Regions from separate parts of the Homo sapiens genome. Here region 2 is linked to region 1. The links are contacts of gene promoters, found by promoter capture Hi-C in blood cells and fetal thymus (Javierre and others, 2016). All regions are on one chromosome and are shown on one strand. The core of a region is centred on a gene start or on the middle of the fragment in contact, and the rest is flanking DNA. Distances in the headings are between cores, read along the strand shown. Region 1 holds the start of RAB5A (RAB5A, member RAS oncogene family). Region 2 holds the start of DPH3 (diphthamide biosynthesis 3).

Region 1 (4,362 bases), core at 638-3,137:
GGATTGAAATTGCCAATAATGTGCTCCTTTGATAAGAAAATGATAAAATATCAATAGAACATCATATATACTGAAAATGCACCAATACATCTTCAGATATTACACACAATCAAAACATTTTCCATTTGTCTTTTTATTTAAGAAAACAAGAAATTACTTATCAAGGACAATATGCTCCAAATTTCTACGGCACTTCCAAAATTTTAGGGAAAATATCAGACTCCCATTAAAAAAAAAAATCAAACAAGATTCTGATTTCACTTTGACTTTTAAGGTTTAAAGCTACTTAATTGTGGCTACTCCCCCTAAGGATCTCAAACAGGAAATAACTAAAGTTAATGGTAAATATACACTTAGCATAACACTAAGGTTAAAAATTACGTGCATTCATTTGTATTCACTGCTTACTGAAACTTCTGTTTTGCAAAACAAGAATTTTGCATAATATACATTTGTAATCTTTTGAAAATAACTGTTATTCATTCTATAGTTAAAATCCTTCTAAGGGTTCTTTGATCAAAAAATTGACTGGGCACTTATTTTGTGCCAGGCACTGTTCCATTTACTTTGTTTATACAAATGCTGAGTTATCACTTCCATTTTACTTTAGGAATAAAGTTTATGAGCAGTCTTGAGTATTCCCAGAGGTGTACAAGTGTTTTTTTCTTATTATGTGAAAGGCAACTGATTGAACGCTTTGATTCCATTTAAGCAAGACAAAAACCAAGTATGTGAACTATGACGTTCAGAACTTAACAAGTTTGAAAGTCTCAGAGGTAAGCAGCTTCCAGGGAAGATAACGCCAGAGCAAGTTCCATGGTCTCTACCCAGTGAAGGAGTTCAGCGGTCCTGTTATCTTGAATTTATTTAACGCTGTAGTTCACTACCTTCCAAACAGAAAACAAGTCTCTAGACAGCCTATTTTGACGAGCCTCCCACCCACCGACACTACTCATCTTTGGAAGTTGAAGATAGGCGGAGCTCCCCACATTGACACCTGCAGTAGGCCCAGGTTCCTGCTTGGAGAGCACCTGAGTAGCTAATAGCCAACTACAGATCGCCTGGATAAGCAGCACTCGCCAGGTCCCTTGGCCTTTCCAACCTCCTCCCCCGAACCTGCCTTGCTTTGACCGAGACCCCCAGGACTGCCAGGACGGAGACCAGGCGGAACCGCGGCCTCCAGTACACTTTCCACGGCGCCATCTTGAGAAGGGAAAGGGTGACACCCGTCGCTCCCTCAGTCAGTCCCCAAATCCCGGTCTCCAGAGCCCCTGGAGGATGAGTCACCAGGGCTGGCAGAACAAGACGCCGGGTTCGATAGTTCTCTGGTCCAGGGCACTGCTGCGCGTGAGGGAGAAGGGGTGGGGGGTCTCAGTACCGGCAGGGCCGCGGACAGGCTGGGGACCGCGGATAACCTGGGGTCCAGGCCCCCGCTGCGCAGGAGGAGGGGCGGTTCGGTTACCTGAGACCGCAGCAAGCCGAGCTGCGGGGCCGAAGCTTCCTGGCAGCAAGGCCCAGGCGTGGCCCGTAGGATGAGAGTGTATCTATGGCGGTGGTGGTGGCGGCGGCGGCGTCGCCTGCTCTTAGCGCCGCTCCCCTCACACTGGACTGTGCGGGGCTCGTGCCGTGGTGCCGCCCCTGTCGGGCTCCGTCTCCGCCTCTCGCCGCTCCCCCTTCCTCTTTCCTTTCTCCTCCTCCGCCGCCGCCGCCGCCGCCGGCGCTGGAGTTCCGACTAATTCTTCCTCCTCCTCCTCCCTCTGCCTCCTCCCCTAAGGCCAGCCGCCGGCTCCTTCACGAACCAAAACACAAACACTCAAGTCCCACCGCCGGAGCCACTTCCGCTGCCCGGTGCCGGCCCCGCCGCCACGTCGCTGCACGCAGCGAACTGCGCCACTTCGTCACTTCCCATCATCGCCAGTCCGCCTGCTCCTTCCGCTTCCTCGCCCCTTCCCGAATCCCTCCCCGCCTAGGTTTGTTCGCGGGGCGGGGCGAGGCAGGATGTCACGTGACCCTGCGAGTGGCTCAGATCCGAACTGGCCGCCTTTCTCCCCTTCCCCCACCCCAGGTACGCGCGGCCACGCCCTCTCCAGCGCCATTGTTATTTAGGCTGGGGGGTCTCTGGGCTCCTGGCGGCCGGGGTCGGGGGAAATTCCTTTACTATTCTTTGGGGGAAGATCAAAATAACTTGTGTTTTTTTGTTTGTTTTTTGTGCCCAGCCCTTGTGGGAGCGGCGAGGTTCCCTAACCCCAATCCTGGCATCTCGGCTAAGGGGCTTTATTAGAGGGAACTTGTCTAGCACGAGAGAACCTCCTCCCACAAAATGGCCCTGGGGTTGGGTAGGTCGGTAAAGGCTGCTAAATCGCATTTACCCCAAGGAGGAAGAAAGGACCCTCCCTATCCCAAAAGCCGCCTTTAGGCGCCTGACAATAAGAAGTCGCTTCTGTTAAGAGTTTACGTGGTTTTGGTAGGGGGCGGGGAAGGCCAAATCCTAAAATAGTGTCTGCCTTTTATTCAGAATTTCCCTTCGCTCTTTACTGTACTAAACGCTTTACAGGAATTATCCCATTGAATTCTTACACTCGAGTCTTTCATTCTGAAACTAACTTGTTAATCGTCTGTTCCCTACATTCGAATTTTAGCTCCCCTTGGTGGTCCTCACCGCTGTAAATCTATGTCTAGCCCAGTGCCTGGCAGCCAAGTCTTCAGTTCTAGTTGTAGATGTTTTATAGGTAAAGAATTTGAGACACAAGAGATTGAGTAACTTGTCCGAGATCACGGCTGTGTGGTGCAGAAGCTGGATTCTGATCTGCGGCGGGTTGGCTCCAGAACGTGAGTTGTTGAACACAATTCTGGTGAAAGACAACCCAAGATGTTCGTTACCCTCCACGGGGGACCTACTGAAGATGTGCTGCTTTAGTTGAATCCCACACCACATTCAGTCTCTGGCGAGGCTTCAGCCACCACCCCCTCCCCAGCCTCCGCCAAAAAAATTGTTTTGATAATTTAGTGGAAGAATATTAAATTGATTTTCCTTCAGAATAAAGGCTACTTTTCAGTTTGCAGTTTACAATGTATAGCTCTGTTGTAAGGGCGAGAATATTGTCTTTGAAGTGTACCGGGTTAAGGTATCTTATGGGCGTACAGTCGGCGGCATTGTGCAATTAAGATGATTTGAACTTTGAACAGCCCGTCTTTCAGATCAACTACCTAGTTGCCAGAAGAACGTAATGTGTCATACGTAAATGATACCTGTGGCATTTTATTCTCAAGGAGTTGTTCAATATGAACTATTAATCATGGTAATAGCTCTGGGACAATCCCAGGAGGAGTCAGGAAATAGGATATGTGACATCAGTTTTGTCATGTCAACAGTATGCCCAAAACGAAACCTATTCCACTCCAAACCTGCTTCTGCTTAGAGACTGGCATTAACATCCTCCCAGTCACCCAGACTTGGAACTGCAGAATCAGCTTCACCTCTTTCTTCTCCTCACAAACCATTGTCCATTCTATCAACAAATTATCTAATCCCCAAATTTGAAGTCTAATCCCAACACCTGGTCCATGGTAGTGTTTATATAAACTGAAATTAATGCATACTGCTGTTCTTTCTGTCCATTCTTTACATTTTAGCCACTCTACTAAAAAATGTTCAATGCTATGTCATTACTTGACAGTCTAAAGTTCTTTAACTCTAGTCCCAACCCAAGTTTCTTTCATTCTATTTCTATAGAATTCCTCTCCCCATACTCTTTATTTGTTCCCTGATCACACGTATCTGGTCTGTGTTCCCTGAATATTGCCTGTGTGTTGCCATCTTGGTATCTGATCACTTTATTTTCTCCACATGGAACACTATCATTGCCCATAACTGCTGGCTCCGTCTTAGCCAGGACACCAGTTCCTTTGGACCGCATCTGCAGATACTTCTACTGGATTCAATTATTATTTTTTCTGTAATTTCACAATACTTTGCCTTACTCTGTATAATGGCTGTCTTAAAATCTGCCTTATTTTAATAGCTAATGAGCACCTGGACTTTTCTCCTTAGCCTTTCATTGAATTATAAGGTTTTTAAGGGCTGTGACCATCAGTTATTCATCATTTCAGTTCTTCACAGAAGACCCTTGACTGCTATAATAGGGACCCCCAAAGTATTGGTGAACTTAATTACATTTAGAATCACGAACATTAAGAAGACCTCACAATGAAAAACATTTGATGCTGAAATTTATAAATTGCAAAAAACTCCCTATTTCATCGTTCCAGTATGTTGCTTCTTCACTCGTTCCTGTTTAGTGATTTTGTCTTCACCTCCTTCATGAATACTTTTCACAATATTTTACAGTTTAGTCATAATGT
Region 2 (4,212 bases), core at 1,630-4,129, 3.7 Mb after region 1:
GCCAGGCACTATTTTAGGCCTTGGAGATATAATAAAGAACCAGACGCAAGGCCCTTGCCATCATGAAGCTTTTATTACAGTTCCAGAGACAGATAGTAGTAAACAAATAACAAGATAATTATAGATTATGATGAGTATGATAAAGGGAGTAAGAGTGATGGGGTAGGTGGGGGAAATATCAAGAAAGACATCTCTCCAGTGATGACACCTTGGCTGAGATCTGAATGATGAGGAAAAGGCGGCCAAGCAAATGTTAAAGGCAGACAACTCTGGCAGAAGGACTAGCAAGAGCAAAGGTCCAACACAGAAATAAGCCCGGCATGTTAAAGGAACCAAGGCCAGTGTGACTGGAGAGCAGTAAGCTGGTAAGAGTGAAATGAGATGAAGTCCAGCAGTCTATAGTAAGGGTAAGAATTTTATCCTAAGGGTAATGGGAAGCAACTGAAAAGTCTGAATCAATCAGGAGAAGGACAAGACCTAATTTATATTTTTAAAGGACTGCTCAAGTTGCTGTGGGAAGGATAACAGAGGGAGAGGGGCAGGAGTGGAAGCAGGAAACCCAGTTAAAAGACTCTGGTCTAAGATTATAATAAGGTAACAGCTACAGAGATGGCAGAAGTAGATGAACATGACATATATTTTGGAATTAGAGCCCCAAAACTTGCTGATACATTAGGCAGGGTGTGAGAGGACACTGACAGAGAAAAGCCAAGAATGCCTCAATAAGCATAAATGCACTGAAATTAAGTAAGTTCAAAGAACAATCATGACATCTGTCAATTTAGAATCTTAGGTGTCACTGAGGAAGAAAAAGGGCTCCTCTTGCTCCAACAGGCAAAGACACCTTAGTGGTAAACAAGTAGTATACACAGAGTATTTGACCGGAAATCAGCGGAACTGGGCTCAGGTGTGACTCCTTCCTGCTTTCTAATCTTCAGCAAGTCTCCTCTTGCCATTTTAACATTACCCACGCCACCTCACTGGATTACTGAGAGGAATAAATAAAATGTCTACCAAAGTACCTGGCAAGCAACAGTGTTACTAAAATCAATCCTAATACATTGACCCCTTCTCTTCCTTGTCAAACAACCTAGAGAGGTGGAGGTTTGGTATTGCCAATAAACAACTCCTTCTGGCCTGATATACAACAGCACTCATCAAATATAGTTTGCATTATACAATTATGACCTACTTCTTTTTTTTTTTTTTTTTTTTTTTTGAGACAGCGTCTAGCTCTGTCGCCCAGGCTGGAGTGCAGTGGCGTGATCTCAGCTCACTGCAATCTCTGCCTTCCAGGTTCAAGAGATTCTCCTGCCTCAGCCTCCTGAGTGGCTGGGATTACAGGCACACCACCACACCTGGCTAATTTGTGTATTTTTTAGTAAAGACGGGGCTTCATCATGTTGGTCAGGCTGGTCTCGTATTCCTGACCTCGTGATCCGCCCTTTTAGGAATAAATGTAAAGTTTAGTAGTCATTGTAATGTTTTCTTCAAAAGTGCACAGGGATATATTATGTATATGTGTTACGTAAATGTAAACTAAATGTTATATATCATTGCTGAACCAAGTAAAGCTCATAATTTCCGTGCAAAAGTGGAACATTACATCTAAAAAGGATCTTATATCATCTCTACTCCAATCCTTTCTTAGAAGAGGAAATAAGGCCCAAAGAATGTAAATATCCAGTTGCCAGAGGTAATCAACAACTCAAGATTCCGATCCCAGATCTTCTCTCGAAAGTGCTTTTTCACTACAATGCATTTCTTCTCTACTAAGATATTAAAATGCCTAGTAATTAAGTAAGACCCAATGTAATCGGTTTTACCAAAACAGGCACTAGCACTGCTTTCAAGACAAAAATGCCTTTTATCTGCATTTCGCTTCAAGGCATACATAGGCCTCACACTGATAAACCTGCCTACTGACACCATTTCTTTCACAACGAAAAAACTGGTACTCACATAAGTAATTTGTTCCTGGGCTTTGGAGACAGACAAGCTCTTCATTATTTCCCAGGTGTATGATTTTAGTCAAGATGCCCAACTCTCTGTACCTCAGTTTAAAGATTAATAAAATGGAATAACATGTAAACTCCTAGAGTTGACAATTCCACTTAGTGCAATAGCTGGCACATAACTTCCCAATAATAAAAGGTGATGTTATTACTATTACTAAAAATCATCGTCGTTAATAATGTTATAAGCCTGGCAAACAGAAGACTAGAACTCAATCCCTGCCTTCCAGGGCTTGGTCCTTTCAGCAACACAATTTAGGGTATTTTAAGGCGTCTGGGGTGAGGAAGAAGCGGAATGTACCTGCAGCCAGGAATTAACAAGCTGACCGTCGCCCTGGGCTCAAGGTCACTCGGTGAAGCGAAATTCTACGGGAACTGTTCGTCCGTCACCAGGAAGGGAGGTCGAGGAGGCTAAGCTGCTCTCGCCTCCCCACCCCGCCTTTCCCGAGGGCCGGGAGGCTGCTACCTAGCACCTGCTGCAGCCTTCAGCGGGCTATTTAAGGCGTTAAAGCAGACGATAAGAAGCAGGGAAACTTTCCCCGCTGGCACCTAGCTTGCAGACCCGGCCACGTTTAGTTGCAGGCGCCTGGAATACTCCGCGGTCCCAGACGTGACGTAGCAGCGCGGGCGAGCCCCACATTCTATTGGTCGCTGCCGCCCAATAGGAGGAGCGGTGCGCGACCCCGCTGAGCAAGCTTTCAGTCTTCCCAGTGTCTCCGCCCCTAGTTCAGCCATCTCCATGGTGACCGCTACCGGTTATCCATTTGGCCGCGCAGGGCGGAGTTGCGTCATTGCCTATGCGCCGGAAGGGCTAGTCCTTGCCCGGCGCGACCTGATGATGCCGAGCCCAGGCCGGTTCCGGCGAAGTTAAACCCTCGGAGCTGGCCTCGGACTGCTGGGGCGTTACCCCTTCGGCCACCCCCGCTGACCATGGCAGTGTTTCATGACGAGGTGGAAATCGAGGACTTCCAATATGACGAGGACTCGGAGACGTATTTCTATCCCTGCCCATGTGGAGATAACTTCTCCATCACCAAGGTAACTTCAGGGTCCCGCCCGGCGGTTCACCCAAGCAAGCGCAGTTTGGTTCCGCCCGTTCCTTCCATCATTGGGTAGCCTTTGCTGCGCTGTGTCACCCACGCCCTCTTTCCCGTTGCTGAATCTTCCTCCTCCCGCGTCCCCCCACCCCAACTAATGCCCTGAGCTCTCTCGGTAGGCACGCAGTTCTGGCCTTAGATTAGGTCAGGGAGAGGGTGGCGGAGAGCCTCTGTCTCTCTGCCCGATCCCTGCCTTAGGGTCCCAACCTGGGATATTTCTGTCGAGGAGGGGACTCGTTTTTTGTTTCCCAGGGCTTTTGGGGCGACCGAAGCTCGCCTGACCTTCCTAGGTGTTTCCCCTAAGTGACGCTTCTAGGGGAAAATGATGTCGGCATTTCTCGCTGAAGGCCCTGGGGTTCTCACCCACCTTGGGGGGAAGGCAAGCCACCAAGAGACTTGCATCTAGGGGTGGGATAGGTTTGGGGGAGGAGATGGCGAAGAGAAGCTATCCTGACCACATGGTATTTGATTTCGTTGTAGGAAGATTTGGAGAATGGGGAAGACGTGGCAACGTGTCCTAGCTGCTCTCTCATTATAAAAGTGATTTATGACAAAGTAAGGGATATAATTTTAAAACGGGGGAAGGGTATTGTAAGTCAGTGGCAAGGACTTAGATCAGCTTGTCAGTGATGAGTGCAGGAGAATGTTTCATTGTGCTAGGTAAAGTGCGGTATTTTTTTAGGCAGGTTTTAAACACCATTGATAAACAGCCGAATAGTAAATTAAAACGTTTAAAGTTCAGATTACGTAATTTATTTTAGCTTTAGAGATAAATCTAGCTTTAGTGAAAATTATTATTTATTAAATAGAAAGTATATAGATTATTTTAGTGGACAATTTTTTATATTTCTCTTCTATTTAATATGTAATTAAAATTGTTTAGAGCTGCTAGACTTACTTTGAAGGGAACAATTGTATGGTATTTCGTGCTGGCTTATACACAGAATTCTGCATTATCTTGTTTGAGATATAATTCCTAGGTGCAGCTTTACAATTTCATTTTAGTCTTTAGTTGCCCTATTATCTTTCACCCAAGGATGTTGACAATAGAAAAAAAAAATGTTATTACTGCCCACTCCTACCCAAAGTTTTGTTCAGTA

The links. Contacts are between HindIII fragments. The CHiCAGO score rates a contact against its expected background, and 5 or more counts as called.
Region 2: a contact is called between the fragment with the promoter of DPH3 here and the fragment with the promoter of RAB5A in region 1, in 1 of 17 cell types (fetal thymus). The highest score is 5.3, in fetal thymus.

What each region holds. Positions count from the first base shown.
Region 1 is chr3:19,944,622-19,948,983 of GRCh38, reverse strand. It overlaps RAB5A (RAB5A, member RAS oncogene family), which reads right to left and starts at 1,887. Exons shown (of 6, transcript NM_004162.5): 1 at 1,463-1,887. It also overlaps a transcript of EFHB not described here. RefSeq lists enhancers at 603-1,202, 1,249-1,298, 1,819-1,868, 1,730-1,899, 1,825-1,994 and 1 more. The HindIII fragment of the contact is 3,439 bases long and covers 1,500-4,362 here.
Region 2 is chr3:16,263,610-16,267,821 of GRCh38, reverse strand. DPH3 (diphthamide biosynthesis 3) reads left to right here and starts at 2,879. Exons shown (of 3, transcript NM_206831.3): 1 at 2,879-3,053; 2 at 3,593-3,667. The coding sequence starts at 2,946. It overlaps OXNAD1 (oxidoreductase NAD binding domain containing 1), which reads right to left and starts at 2,610. Exons shown (of 9, transcript NM_138381.5): 1 at 2,317-2,610. RefSeq lists an enhancer at 2,738-3,047. The HindIII fragment of the contact is 11,235 bases long and covers 2,713-4,212 here.